Linked DNA regions of Homo sapiens: regions 2, 3, 4 and 5 are each linked to region 1. Evidence: promoter capture Hi-C in 16 types of primary human blood cells and fetal thymus (Javierre and others, 2016). All regions are on one chromosome and are shown on one strand. Each heading gives the region's core, a stretch centred on a gene start or on the middle of the fragment in contact. The rest is flanking DNA. Distances are from core to core; before and after follow the strand shown. Region 1 holds the start of CAV2 (caveolin 2). Region 2 has its middle 77 kb from the start of TES. Region 3 has its middle 47 kb from the start of TES. Region 4 has its middle 30 kb from the start of TES. Region 5 overlaps TES (testin LIM domain protein).

Region 1 (2,914 bases), core at 179-2,678:
TGCCTACTTTGAGCTCTGAGCAACCTGCACCTCAAGCCTAGTTCTCATTGTTTTGCTTTTGGCAAATTTTCACTAAGTGCCCTTCCTCCCCAAACACACGTATATGTCTACCAGACCCTAAAGCCCTTTATGAACATGCAAACTCCTCCCTTCTGAAAACCTTTGCGTGAGTGGTCAGCAGGCTAATTCATCCATTGCAATGTGGCTTTGTGTTAGGGTTCTGTTTCCGTGCTGCCTGCAAGATAATCACAGATGTGACTGCATCTTAGAAGTTCCTGAATCTTTCAAGACAGTCTGGTTCACAAGAAAATTAAAAGGTGGAGGTCGGGCGCGGTGGCTCACGCCTGCAATCCCAGCACTTTGGGAGGCCGAGGCGGGCGGATCACCTGAGGTTGGGAGTTCGAAACCAGCCTGACCAACATGGGGAAACCCCGTCTCTGCTAAAAATACAAAATTAGCCAGGCGTGGTGGTGCATGCCTGTAATCCCAGCTACTCGGGAGGCTGAGGCAGGAGAATCGCTTGAACCCGGGAGGCAGAGGTTGCGATGAGCCGAGATCGTGCCATTGCACTCCAGCCTGGGCAACAAGAGCGAAACTCTGCCACACACACACAAACACACACACACACACACACACGGTGTAGTTTAGGAAGTAAAAAAAAAAAAAAAAAAAAAATCAGATCTCCCCTCACACCTCAGATCTGAAGGCACAAACTCTAGGGCCAGGGCGTTCGCCTACCCAACTCCACATGCACTTGCAGGTCACCTAGCACTCAGGTACCTAGCACTCAGGTACATTGTGGCTCCTTACCTCTCACGACAGCAGCAACAACGTTGATTGGAAGTTTATCACTGTGTGTTACGGGCCATGGGCCATGTGTGTTAGAATTTTATGTGAAATTAACATTTAATTCTCACGGACACCCCTGAAACAGATGCCACAGCCCCCATTTTGCCAACGAGGCAGCTGAGGTTCCCAGAGGCTCAATACCAGCACCATGAGCCGCAGCACGCAAGGCAAACACAGCCGGAGGTGAGCACATACCTGCTTCGCACCCCATGCGCCTAACCACAAGGTTCCCTCCCTCCAGGAAGGCCGTTGTCTTCCCTGGGACGACTTGCCAGCTCTGAGGCATGACAGTACGGGCCCCCAGAAGGGTGACCAGGAGGCCCTCCTCGTCCCAGCTGCCGGCGTCGCCGCCCACTGCAGGGCCCGGGCTGTGACTCGTGGGGACGGTTCCCTGCGCCCCGGCGGGGGAGGTGGGCGGGGAGGGGCGGCGGGGCGCCGGGGCGGGGCTCGGGACGGCCGGGCTGGGAGCTGGAGCCCACAGCGGGAAGCGGCCGCCGCCCGGGCCTCGCAGGGCTAGGCGAGGCGAGGGGGGGCGGGGCCGGGCGCTACGGGAAGGGGAGGCCGCGCGGACCGGGAGCCGCACCGCGCCAGCCGGGCTGCAGCGGCCGCGCACCAAGGCTGCGATGGGGCTGGAGACGGAGAAGGCGGACGTACAGCTCTTCATGGACGACGACTCCTACAGCCACCACAGCGGCCTCGAGTACGCCGACCCCGAGAAGTTCGCGGACTCGGACCAGGACCGGGATCCCCACCGGCTCAACTCGCATCTCAAGGTGAAGCCCGGGGCGGGCGGGCCCAAGTCCCCGCTGAGGCCGGGAGGTGCGGGCGCCCCTCAGCCCCGCCCTAACCCGTCCCACCATTGCTACCGGGTCGGCCCCGCAGGGTCTGAGACCCGCACCCTTCCCCGGTCCCACCCGTCACCAGGCCGCCCGCGTAGCCAGGAATTCTTAGCCAGGTTCCTGTGCGCCCACCGTGACCCTAAGAGAAGAGGCGGACGCCCTGGCACGTCCTTCCCTCCTGCTTCCCCCGCCCAAAGCGCTCCCGGTTCCCGGGGCGTCAGGTTGGCTGACAGTTCGGGGTCCCTGCGTCCTGTCTCCTCAGCTGGGCTTCGAGGATGTGATCGCAGAGCCGGTGACTACGCACTCCTTTGACAAAGTGTGGATCTGCAGCCATGCCCTCTTTGAAATCAGCAAATACGTAATGTACAAGTTCCTGACGGTGTTCCTGGCCATTCCCCTGGCCTTCATTGCGGGAATTCTCTTTGCCACCCTCAGCTGTCTGCACATCTGGTGAGACGGGGCACACCGGGTGGACCGGCTTTCTGAAACATGGGCATATTCTCCGCCACCTGCCCCCTACTCTCCTCTTATCCCAGGCCGGCGTCAGGAGGAGGAACGCGCATCAGTTCCCAAGCAGTAGGAAGAACTGGAAGGCCTTGAAAGGCAATGCGCTTCCTTTAGAATAACAGTTTGGGCTTGGAGTTTCAACAGGAGAAAGAATGTCGGTCTTTCCTGGGGTGTGATTTTCCTTGCATACATAAGGCTGGGCTGAGTGTGGAGGCGGGTACCTGGAAGCCACACTTCTTACCACAGGCTGCTCTCGGGGCCCTGTTGTGACTCGTACCTGCGGTTCTGGGCAGGACTCTTCTTTCTTTCATTGCCTTTTATTCAGTCACTGCCTGTGCTTGGGGTAAAACAAAAGTGATCTCTGAGCAGAATGCCGCTGACAGTAGAATTGGATGAGGATGTCAGACCTGGTTAAGCAGTAGTGTGGAGGGGCTGCTTCAACTTTGCCCCTGGCAGATGGCAAGGATGGGACCCAGAGGAAAGGGAGGTGTGTGCAGTTAAGGCGAGGGTCCCCCCCAGTACAAACGAATGAAAACTCCAGCTGCGGGATAATGAATGAGAAGGCCTCCAAATTACTTTTTCACTGATGAAACACAAATGGAAGTGGCATATAATTAAAGGGGAAAGAAATATGGAAGCCCACTGTATATTGATAGGATATTTTGAGTAACTCTATTCATACTCAAAATGTGTCCTAAACTGTAGAGAACTTTCTTAAG
Region 2 (2,914 bases), core at 107-2,606, 370 kb before region 1:
TCATTTTAAGGAATTAGTGCATAAAGTTGGCCTATAAGTCAAAGAAATGTATGTAATCAAAATTACTCATGGAAATCCCCTAACTCTACCATAAACCATATCCTTTAGTGTTGTTTATATGGCACTGTTCAAAAATGCTATTTCTTAATGTTTTCTTAAGGATTTGAACAAATTTCTGCTTCTTGGGTCTGGCATCAGGTAAAGTAGTTGGCTATTCAGGTCTACAGTGAATTTTTTTAAATATGCAAAAAAGATCAAAGCTTAGAATATTATCAGCTAAGTATAACTCTCGAAAAACTGAATATGCTCAAGGATCAGGTCTAATAAAGTTAATAATTTTTACAGCTTCATCAAAGGCAATCCTAAGTAAAGTTGGCATTGTTTTCTTTAACTGTGAGTGCATGGCAGTGAAGAATATAATGACTGACTAGCGGTTTGGTGCCACGGCCTTCATTCATAAAAAGGCACATGCAATTTATTCACCATTGCTTTTGCACAGTAAGTGCAAATATTCAAACTGTGAAAATGGAAAATAACATTTTAGCAATAAAATGTTTTAGGAGACACCTCGGGAACTATAGAACATTCTTTGAGAACTATAGCGTTAAAACAACTTTTAAACAAGCTATAGAATATTAGTTAGCTGGAAAAAAGTGAGAAATCTTTTCCTGAAATGGCAAAGCATCATTAAATTTTGTTGTGAATGTTTACAGTGAATATTTTAATTAATATGCATATAAAATTTCACCAATTGTGTTTTTTGTCTTTTATCTCATTTATCTGTCCTCTTTTCAATACATTGTCAACTTTGTAGCTTTGTTTCATTAATTTTTAAGCTTTTCTTCAAAACAGTTTTAAGACTACTTTAGAAAATAAATTATTACAGTGCTTAAAAAGAAAATAAATGTATGCAATAAAAGCTATCATCGATTTTTAAGTTGCTTATAATCTTTTCAGTTTTTGTCAATTTTCAAAAGTTACATAATGACAAAGAGTGATTTAATTTTTGTTTACCTCACAATACCTTATGTTTAGATTCTCGGCAACAAAACTACAAACGTGTTATGTACCAAACGAAAATAATTCTTTCCTTAATTAGAAAAGTCTGGCCAGGCACGGTGGTTCATGCCTGTAATCCCAGCACTTTGGGGGGCCAAGGCAGGCAGATGACTTGAGGCCAGGAGTTCGAGACCAGCTTGGCCAACAGGGTGAAACCCCATCTCTACTAAGAATACAAAAATTAGCCAGACGTGGTGGCGTGTGCCAGTATTCCCAGCTACACAGGGGACTGAGGAACCCCACAAAGTGGACATTGCAGTGAGCTGAGATCACGCCCCTGCACTCCAGCCTGGGTGACAGAACAAGACTCTGTCTCAGAAAAAAAAAAAAAAAGTAGGGGGATGGGGAAAAACATTCTTTGCCAATAAATGATTTCTGGGAAACATAATTTAATCATTTAAATTAAAGACTTTTCATGCCCCTCTTGTTGATTTCCCAAAAATGTAGCTTTTTTTTCCTGACTGAATTTTCTTTGAAATAATTAAAAGAAAAAGAAAATTTACCTCTTTACTTCTCATGTTCTTGTGTTATCTTTCAGAGCTTAACCTATGGTACTGTAGTAAACGCTAAAACTTTATGAATAGCAGCTTTTTAGATGCCTAAGACATCTTTAAGATTAGAGAGCGATGTTTATGAAGTAGAATACTATTGAATTAGTTAAGCAGGTAAAAGAGAAGAACAGGTCCTGAGCAGTAATAATGCAAAACAATAGCAACAACAAAAAAAAATTAGATCAACATAAGCTCCTGATGTGTAATCACTGACAGAAAAAGCTGGCAAACCAAGCCAAGAGATAGCAGGCCAGTCAATCCAGACTAAAAGCTTAAGCTAAAAATAACTGCCTCACTAGGTCTTTGTAGAAAAATTCTACATGCTAAGGATGTCAACTTAAATGTGTCTGGTTTATGAATAAGAATATTTAAGAACAAAGGCTGCATACATTAAAAGAAATAAAATTAATATAAAAGACTGAGTCAAGTAAATGATCTGTGTAAGTTCAGAAACTTTTAGATTAAATAGTTGAAAAGCTGTGAAACTAGAATGACAGCTTTTATCCTTTATCATATTTAAAGCAGGGTGTCTATGCTTGACTTCTGTTCTCATGCTAGATATAAAAAATAAGAATAAAAAGAAAGAGGGAAGGAAAAATGTATACCATATATTGCTGCTTCTAAATCAATTACACATTGTACACAAATTGAATCACCTCTTACTTAAAAGCTAATCAGAAACATTACTATGCACAGAAATGACCTGTTTTCCACCTAAATTCTAGTTCAAACCCTTCCCTTTGGGTCTCTGAAATTTTTTTTATTCACTTCTTTTTATTACTTTTACATATCAAGAGTAAATGTGGTTAGTTTTGAATCATTTATTTTGAAGGAAAAAATTACATGAAAACAGGTTAATAAGACTGTGAGCATTGCTATACGAAAAATTAGAAGTCTTCTTCGCCCTTTTTTGATAACTGCATTAAGTATATGAACCCAAATACTTTCTCTAATTATACACATCTTACAAATATGTTCATATTAATGGAAAACAAAAGGTATGCTATAGCTTTGTGGTAGAGTGGAAATAAATGCACCAATTATACTTAAAGTATTAAATAATGTTATAATACTGGCCTTTGAAACTAAAATAAATGTCTTATTTATAAAGCATCAGGAAAACCTCTTCAGCTCCTGCTCAAATACGTTGCACATTTGAATAATGCCAGTCTCTGTAGGACTTGATATTGGACTATGAATATTTGACCTAGAATATCATTAACAACTTATACATTTTAAAATCACATTTTGAAATGCGTCAAAACTAAGATTGTAGTGAATTTAATTTCAAAGTCATACTATCC
Region 3 (2,914 bases), core at 217-2,716, 340 kb before region 1:
GATCAGGAAAAATAACTAATGGGTACCAGGCTTAATACCCGGGTGATGAAATAATCTGTACAACAAACCCCCATGACACAAGTTTACCTGTGTAGCCAACTTGGCACTTGTACCCCTGAACTTAAAATAAAAGTTAAAAAAATAGTATTAAAGCCATTTAGACTCAGGCAACATGAGTAAGAGAAAGAATATAAGGGATAAGATCAGAGAAATGAAAGAGGAACCAGGTGCCTAGCAGGCTATGATGAGGACAATGAATATTATTCTTAGCATTAGAAAGCATTAGAAGGTTTTGAGCAGAGGAGAAACATGATTCAACTTATATTTTCAAAGGATCACCAAGTCACCCAGGCTGCTTTGTGGAGGACAGACTGGGGAGGGGGGTGCAATTACAGAAGCAGGAAGATGAATTGGAAGGCTACTGAAATAGTCCAGCTGAAAAAATTGGTCCCAACTCCCTTGATGATATATGCACATATATAAGAAAACCAGGTTTTCTTACTGCAGCCATTCACAGGGTCTTTCCTATATTACTATGGCAAGAGTCAAACTGGAGAGCCAAGAAATGTGTCTGCATATGCAGGAATATATATATATATGGCGCTATATGCAGGAATATATATAGCGCTATATACATACAGCTATAGTCAGAGATAGCATCATGATATGGATAGCAGGAAAGGAGGGCTTTGCTTTAACAGATGTACAAGAACAGAGTTTGTGTAGGAGAAGGAGGAGGAAGAGAAATTTTATTTGCTAAAGGTTAGTTATTTTGAAAATGTGTTCTTTGATGAGAAGGATCAGGAATCAGGATAGTCTAGATAGAAAACACAGAGGCAACATATGTGGCACACACACACACACACACACACACACACAAAACACCAAACAAACAAAAAGAAAGGCCTGTTGATCTATTTCTGAAGAGACATGAGAAGAGTTATTTAGAAAGAAGAGCCAGCAGGAGGCAATGTAGGCTTACAAAGTACAATAGGCACATCAGCCTAGAAATCTTCAATCAATCAATCAAACCTTTCATAATGTAACTAATAGGGAGGAAAACATACTGGGAGGCATAGGATTACTGTGAGCTGTTTTGTAAAATACTCAGTAGTCATTGGTTTCTATTGTTGTAACAAAATATCCCTTTGTTATATATGATTAGCAAAATTGCCAGTGCCTGCATTTACAAATCCTAAACTCTATAGAGTTCATTTTCCTAAATTTCAACTACATTTGAGCTAATCAATAAATGGTCCCCTGACAATATAGCCCAGAGTTTAATTCCAGAGAAACCAGGAAGGGACCACTGTTACCAGGAGCAGAGTATTATCCCAAAGAACAACTGCAAATTCAATTGTTCAGGTTGGTTGGAGGTCATGTTCTATGTTCTACATGAACAGGAAAAGGACAGAGGCATTGTCTGGGTAGTCCATCCCAAAGAAACCACAGGGCAAAGTCTGGGACAAAAGAAGAAACACTAAAGCTGCCATGCACTTGCATCTTGAAGTCAGAGCAGCCAGGAAAGCTACTGTTCCAAAAGCTGCTTGAGAACTTCTGAGACTATTAATGTTGGCACAGCTCAGTCCCACAGACCAGCAGCTCAATAGAAATCCCTGGAATTTCTAAAGGTATCTGATGTTTCTAACTTGCCACTACCAGCTGTCAGGAGTATACACTCAGCACAGTAAAGAGCCCACAAATGTGCCCAGTTTACCTGGAAACTACCTTTTCCTCTATATTAGTGCTGTATTCCTCTAAGGGGTTGAATAAGTAGGACACAGGCTGAGCTTCTGAAATAGAGACCCCAAATACAGTGGTATAAACAAAGTGTAAGTTTATTTTGTGCTCATTTGATTATGCAGAGATTAGTAGTCCCAGATCGGGTGAGAGAATCTGCCTTTCTCAACAGGGTGTTCCATCTCTGGGCCACCTTGGCTGTCCCAGTCGCATCACCTTCTAGTAACACACATCACTTTCTCTCCTATTCCTTTGGTCCCAACTAAGTCTATGAGAGGAACTGGGAAACAGAATGCCTACCGAGCAGCCACACACCCTTCAGAAACTCAAGATTTCTTTTTAAAATAAGGGGAGATGAATCCGGATAGACGTCTAGGAAACTCTGCCATGGGTAACTTGACAAATCATCACAAACGTGAGGCTTGAGAAGAGATTAATTGGGATTTTCCCTGTTTTATAGAAGAAGAAACTAAAATAAAGTTGTATGACATTTTTTTAACTCATTCAGAAAAATCTAGAAGTCAGTGGGTGACTTTCCTTGCTGTCATTCGTTATAAAAACTCCATGCTTATACACTTGTTTTTGTAAGCATTTACATCCTTTGTACATACACAAAATTTTGCTGGAAATAATTTTATTCCTCCTCCTATTACTTTTAAAATTATCAGTGGTCCAGAGTTCAAAGATTAAGAATTATAAAATAGACCATGGAAAATTTAGCAATAATTGAGCTCTCCATGTCTGGTACTTATGTAGAAGCATGTTTTAATAAACATCTGCAGAACATATGCTCAGTGGAAAACCCCTTTGACTGAGCAAGATTGAGAAATGTTTCACCCAGAATCATCACTCCCATTTCCAAATGAATGCATATAATTCCCCAGCAAGAGATTTTTAAGGCTTGATTCTTTTATGTTAAAGTAAATATGCAGGAAAATATTAAATAATTATGAATGTCTATGCAATATGATAATATTAGTAATGCTGCACCACAATTGCTGGGGGTGATAATAGGCATTTTACAAACATCACTTCTAATTCTGACAGCAATTCTGGGCAGATATTATAATAACCATTTTAAAACAGAAAATAAAGGCTTGAACAATTTAACAACCTTGCCCATAATTACACAGCTTGTAAGTGACCGACCTGGAAGGTCAGTGGAGATCTTTCA
Region 4 (2,914 bases), core at 182-2,681, 320 kb before region 1:
ACTCTGTCTCAAATACAAAAATAAATAAATAAATTCATTAATTAATTTTTAAAAAATTAAAAATAAAACACAAACACTGAAGAGAAGAAGCTTAGAATAAGGGAGGAAAGCATAATGATATAAAATTAAGTAAAGTAATATTTAGTTTGCTCAGAGGGAATAAACATCTTGTGAGAGAAAAAAATTAATGAGGTTCTTGGAAGTATTTCTCTATCTCTTAGACAATTGGTAATTATCATGAAATACTACTAGTCATTAACATAGAAAACTGGGCTAGACAGAGACCTAAGAGTTATACACCCATGATTAACTTTGATTGGAGAAAACCAATTGCAATGTATGAGATCTCCTTTAATACTACTTCCTTTAATTCCATGTCTTCCCCTTCCTGCCACCTCAATTTCCACCATTTAATTTGGCACATGATGCCTCTCATAATCTGGTCTCTCAGATCTCACTACCCCAAATTTTCGACGGCCCTTACCCACTATATGACCAGTGATCCGGTAGTGCCAAACTACTTTTAGTTTCTCAAGTAAGCTATCATCTTTGATGGCCATTTGTTTTGCATATTTTCTTCCCTCTGCTTAGAACAGTCTTACCATTACCTCGAAAAAGAAATCAGACTATATTAGTTTGCGAGGGCCACCATAATGAAGTACCACAGACTGGGTAACTTAACATAAATTTTCTCAGAGTTCTGGAGGCTAGAAGTCCAACATAAACAAGTCAGCACAGTTGATTTCTTCTATGGGGTCTCTCATTGGCTTGTAAATGGCTGTTTTCCTGTGTTTTCACATATTTCCTCTGTCCATGTCTGTGTCCAAATTTCTTCTTCTCATAAGGACACCATTCATATGAAATTAGGGCCTACCCTACTCACCTCACTTTAACTTATCTCTTTAAAGACAATATCTCAGAATACAGACACATTCAAGGTTACTGAATGCTATGACTTCAATATATGAATTTGGGGGGAGAGTAAAATTCAGATTATAACAGACAAATTCTTACTGTCTACAATACAGCTTTATAGTAATTTCTTCTAAGAGTTCTTCATCTTGAATCTTTCCATCTCAGTCTGAGTTAGGTCTCCTTCCTCAGAACTTCCAAAGCACTACCTGTATTCCTCTATCACATTAAAGGATATGTTTTCTCACTCTGCTCTAAGATGTGACTTTCTTTTCCTTATCCCAGCACCTACCCCTGTGCCTCACACCTGGTAAGTGTGCCATACTCTTTGTACCTTGAAGTATAAGCCCTCTAGCCTGGCTGTATTGTGATAGTATTTCATTGGATAGGAAATATAGAATTAGAAAACATAGACAATTAGTGCCTTTTTGTAATGTTGAGTTTAAGAGATATCTATATATAGAAATAAGTAGCAAGGAAGTGGAAATACAGGCATGAAACTCAACGGAGAAAACCATGCTGAAAGTATGATTTGGTGAATGGGTATGATCACTCAGGGAACATGTATAAATGAGAATAGCATGGAAAAATCTTTAAAGAATAACAAATTTTTGAAACAGCAGGAGAAAGAATAGAAATGTCAGAGAAGCAAAAGGAGGCTAAGAGAGAATAGTTTCTCTTCCCATTGATACTATTTTCCATACTAGCATCAAACTTTGCAGTGAGCTGTTTATCCTTTATATTGCCACCAGGGGTCTCCAACAACTTCTGCAATGCCTGACAGAACTCAAAGTATCTTATAGCTGTCTTTACAAGGGCTTTGGCAACAATAACATTCCTTGAGAAAGAAGACCAGGTAGGTGCCTCAAAACAGTGTTAGATATCCTTGACTGAGCTGAAGTCCGGAGGAGTCCTTTAAGTTACTCTTGGTCTGCAGCTTACTGACCACCAGGTAGTCTCTTGTACTGGCAACTTTGTCACACAATGAATCACTGAGACATACTCTCCCTATCAAGAATTGAGACTGGTTGTTCACCTACGACACAATGAAGCCCAATACATAGATTGCATAAGGTTTGATGAGCACCCAGAGCAGACTGAAAAGAACTGGATGTTCTGAAGAAAAAAATTAAATCATGTAATAGGGACTCTATTATTTTGATTCTAGAAATTATCTATCTTCAAAAAAAAAAAGATGAGAAAAAAATGTTTTAAGTCTATCTCCTAGAATAAAGAAAAATAAGATTAGGCTGAATAAAGCTGACATTTATTTCTTAAACTTTTTCCTTTTTCTAATTATTCCTGCAGACAACTGCAATTAACTTTTATATATATATGTACTTTCATATTAAATGTTTAGAATTTTCACTAACATGGAAACGTTTAGTACAGAAAAGTAAAGATTGAACAATATTACTCATAGACCTCCTACCTCATTAACATTTTGCATATTTGTTTCTTCCATATATGTTTTGTCTCGATGTGTCCGGAATTGGTGGGTTCTTGGTCTCACTGCCTTCAAGAATGAAGCCGTGGACCCTCGCGGTGAGTGTTACACTTCTTAAAGGCGGAGTATCCGGAGTTTGTTCTTTCTGTTGTTCAGATGTGTTCGGAGTTTCTTCCTTCTGGTTTGTTCGTGGTGTCGCTGGCTCAGAAGCGAAGCTGCACACCTTCGCGGTCAGCGTTACAGCTCTCAAGGCGGTGCGTCTGGAGTTGTTCGTTTCTTCCAGTGGGTTCTTGGTCTCACTGGCTTCAGGAGCGAAGCTGCAGACCTTTGCCGTGAGTGTTACAGGCCCGTAAAGGCAGTGTGGACTCAAAAGAGTCAACAGCAGCAAGATTTATTGCAAAGAGCAAAAAAACAAAGCTTCCACAGTGTGGAAGCCGGACCCCACCTAGTTTCCACTGCTGGCTGGGGCAGCCTGTTTTTATTCTCTTATCTGGCCTCAACCACATCCTGCTGATTGGTCCATTTTACAGAGAGCTGATTGGTCTGTTTTACAGA
Region 5 (2,914 bases), core at 140-2,639, 280 kb before region 1:
CTTGTTTGTACTTAATTTTCATAATATTTGTGGAGGTATTTGAAGATATTAGGTTAAGTTTAATTAATTTAAATCTGTAGTATAAGGCTCTGAAGGCTGTAATAGTGTGGGTCCCATAAGTCTAGGAGTGATGTATTACTTACCTTGGTATTTAATTATGGGAAAATGAAAAATAATGGAACATTTATTTTCTTTAAAAGTTATCTCTCTCAAAATAAGGCTGTTAAAATAATTTTAAAAGATTAAAAAAAAACTATATGAGTGCTTTTTTACGTACCATGCACTGTTCTAGACTCTGGGGTTATAGTTGTGAACAAGAATGACACTGAACTTAAGCTTGTATCATAGAATTATGCTATTGCAAGTGTTGATAGAGCAATGTAAATATTGAAAGTAAGCACAACTGGAATTATACCCGTCAGTGAACTCTTGATAGGTTAGCAGTACGCTATGTTTCTAACACAGACAGTGAGCAATTTTGATGGTGATCCCTGGGCTTGATTCTTGGTTTTGCAAACTTTGTAATTAGGGATTCTTATTTCATTTGTCTTAAGTAATAGCAAATGTAAAAGATGGGAAAATGAGAAAGCAGCTTTTATGTATTAGAATGTGAAAAAGATTATGAATGCATAAAGCTATACAAATAGACTTACACCTATAATATACACAAACTATAAGTCTTCTCCCTGCCTACAAATGCCTTACAAAAGAGTCATTCTTGGATTTCCTGTTTGCAGTCATAGCTAATTTTTGTTTGGTAACTACTGCCATGGTAACCAAAATTATGATTTTAAAAGAATTGTTTATTAAATCATTAATATACAGGAAATTATTTTACTTTTTACAAGGTGGTGGTATCCAGAGAAATTATATTATTAATTATGAAATCAACTTTTTCTAGGAGAGGAAGATAAGGAAACAAAAGACTAATCAAAAACATTGCAAAACTGCAGATTTTCAGGATTTTAAAGAAAAATAATTTGGTAATTGATAACTTCACTACTGTTCTTTGAGTAAATATCCATGTTTAAAATTTGCCTCAAGCACTATTAGAGGATTAAATTTAGAGGTTATGCTTTTCAACTGCCCAACTACAATCTTTGACTCTCCTACAAAAGAGCTGCCATTTAGCATGGTTTTGTCAATTTTCAGTTCTAAGTGCCCTGTCTACCTAACATTCTAGTTAGATAATGGGGAATTAGAGCGATAAGGATATGCATGACTATAATTTTCTAAGTATCACTGTATTTATTTTGGTCAAATTCAAAAAAGTAAAAAAGCATAGTTTAGAATTGCCAATTTCTCTGTTCCTTAGTCTGTTAGAATGGTGGGGAGTCGGCTCAGATTTGAGCATGGCTTAAAGTGGGAGAGCGTTATTAGAAGCCAGCCTAGTGGGGATTGCTGAGATCTCATCTGCTGAATGACAGCAAAGTTACTACTCTGTAAATATACTTAATCTGAAATGCTGAATTATCCTCAAACCATGAGTGATTCAGCTTGTGTTTATCATTGTGACATTCTGGCCACTGTGAAAAGCTGTAAACAGGAGTTTCAGGGTGTTCATTGCATAGCTTATCTGAGCAGCGAGCCCAGCAGAAAAGATGGCATTCAGCCCAGCAGAAATGCCTTGATAAGGAGTCCATTAATGCATCTCTAGCCACAATGAACTTTTCCCTTGCTTTGTTTGATGATAAAGTGATATCATGTTTCATTGAAAAATGACCATGTAGATGTTAGGTGGATTTTTGTTTTTATATGACCACAACGTGACAGTCTTAACAGAATGAGTCACAAAGTAAGGATCAAGGATCTGATTTTTCCTTTATGAGATACTGGCCTACAATAAAAATAACTGGGGGTTAAAAAAATTACCCTTTGTTTTTCGTAGAGAATATTAAAAGTGCAGTTTAGATTTAAAACTACAGACTCTAAACTCCATATCTATCAGTATCACCTCTTGAGCAAAATACCGATGTCACCTTTGATAGATTTTTTTTTAAAAAAGGAAGGAAGATGAGTGAGCAAAACAGATGTGTAAGTTAACTACAGTGCTGGATAGAATGACATAAGTGCTATAATACAATTTCTTATCTGGGATGAGGAACCTTTTTATAAACAAAAATTAATCATTGGTTGATATTTTTAAAAACACAATAAAAATTTATTACTTAAAAGACAAATACAGGGCCAATTAAAAAAATTATTAAATGCAAGAGACACAAAATTACTTTAAGTATATAGTAGTTCCTAATTGCCTACTGTCAGTTTCTCTGCCTATCTCATCACAGACTAGTGACTTACACTTTGTGAACTGCCACTTTGAGTAGCACAGCAATAATAGAAATACAAACAACTGTTATGAAGTCTTAGAAGCAGAAGTAACTAACTTTAATTGTGTGGGTTGCGATTATTTTATCAAGGAAACACCTCCTATAGAATAAAGAAGCTTTCATTAGGCAAAGAAAGCATTCCATAAAGAGGAAATAGCATGAACCAAAGGTACCTGGCTGTGAAAAGTCAGTAAAACCACCCTTGACATTTTCAGTTTTGTCTCTTCTAAAATAAAGCTAAAGTAGATGAGCTGCAGTAATTTGTAATTTTTCCACAGTACAGGTTTGAATTAAAGAGGTATGTCACTGAGCTAGTATAAGACCCTAGCCCACAGCTGAAGAGTTTCTGATCTCCCTTAACTGTGATGATTATTTAATACATTGTGTCATCTATTGAGAGAGAGGAGGAAATTTCACAGTAGAGTCTAGCTCATTTAGGCTGGTCTGGACTCTGAGCTGTGGACTGGGACCACAATGTTGCCAGGTTTTCATCCTTCTTAGATCAGTGAAGCCAACAGTAAAGGTCATGCCCAACTGCAGGAGCACCTTTTAAGCCTCTTCTTATGCCAAAGCAGTCACATGTC

Evidence for each region. The method cuts DNA at HindIII sites, captures the fragments that hold promoters and counts their contacts. A CHiCAGO score of 5 or more calls a contact.
Region 2: a fragment that was not itself captured here is called in contact with the fragment with the promoter of CAV2 in region 1 in 1 of 17 cell types (total B cells); the score reaches 5.5 in total B cells.
Region 3: a fragment that was not itself captured here is called in contact with the fragment with the promoter of CAV2 in region 1 in 8 of 17 cell types (naive CD8 T cells, naive B cells, total CD4 T cells and 5 more); the score reaches 7.4 in naive CD8 T cells.
Region 4: a fragment that was not itself captured here is called in contact with the fragment with the promoter of CAV2 in region 1 in 2 of 17 cell types (total CD8 T cells and endothelial precursors); the score reaches 6.3 in total CD8 T cells.
Region 5: a fragment that was not itself captured here is called in contact with the fragment with the promoter of CAV2 in region 1 in 1 of 17 cell types (endothelial precursors); the score reaches 6.9 in endothelial precursors.

What each region holds. Positions count from the first base shown.
Region 1 is chr7:116,498,310-116,501,223 of GRCh38, forward strand. CAV2 (caveolin 2) reads left to right here and starts at 1,429. Exons shown (of 3, transcript NM_001233.5): 1 at 1,429-1,622; 2 at 1,951-2,138. The coding sequence starts at 1,473. CAV2-DT (CAV2 divergent transcript) reads right to left here and starts at 1,207. Exons shown (of 3, transcript NR_188012.1): 1 at 1,045-1,207. RefSeq lists enhancers at 444-945, 992-1,131 and a silencer at 1,312-1,401. The HindIII fragment of the contact is 7,148 bases long and covers 1-2,914 here.
Region 2 is chr7:116,132,161-116,135,074 of GRCh38, forward strand. It overlaps a transcript of TFEC not described here. Among named protein-coding and RNA genes, the nearest start is that of TES, 77 kb to the right of the region's middle. The HindIII fragment of the contact is 1,045 bases long and covers 835-1,879 here.
Region 3 is chr7:116,162,208-116,165,121 of GRCh38, forward strand. No RefSeq gene overlaps it. Among named protein-coding and RNA genes, the nearest start is that of TES, 47 kb to the right of the region's middle. The HindIII fragment of the contact is 5,978 bases long and covers 1-2,914 here.
Region 4 is chr7:116,178,735-116,181,648 of GRCh38, forward strand. No RefSeq gene overlaps it. Among named protein-coding and RNA genes, the nearest start is that of TES, 30 kb to the right of the region's middle. The HindIII fragment of the contact is 2,686 bases long and covers 89-2,774 here.
Region 5 is chr7:116,216,709-116,219,622 of GRCh38, forward strand. All of the region lies in intron 1 of TES (testin LIM domain protein), which reads left to right. Among named protein-coding and RNA genes, the nearest start is that of TES, 7.6 kb to the left of the region's middle. The HindIII fragment of the contact is 2,110 bases long and covers 335-2,444 here.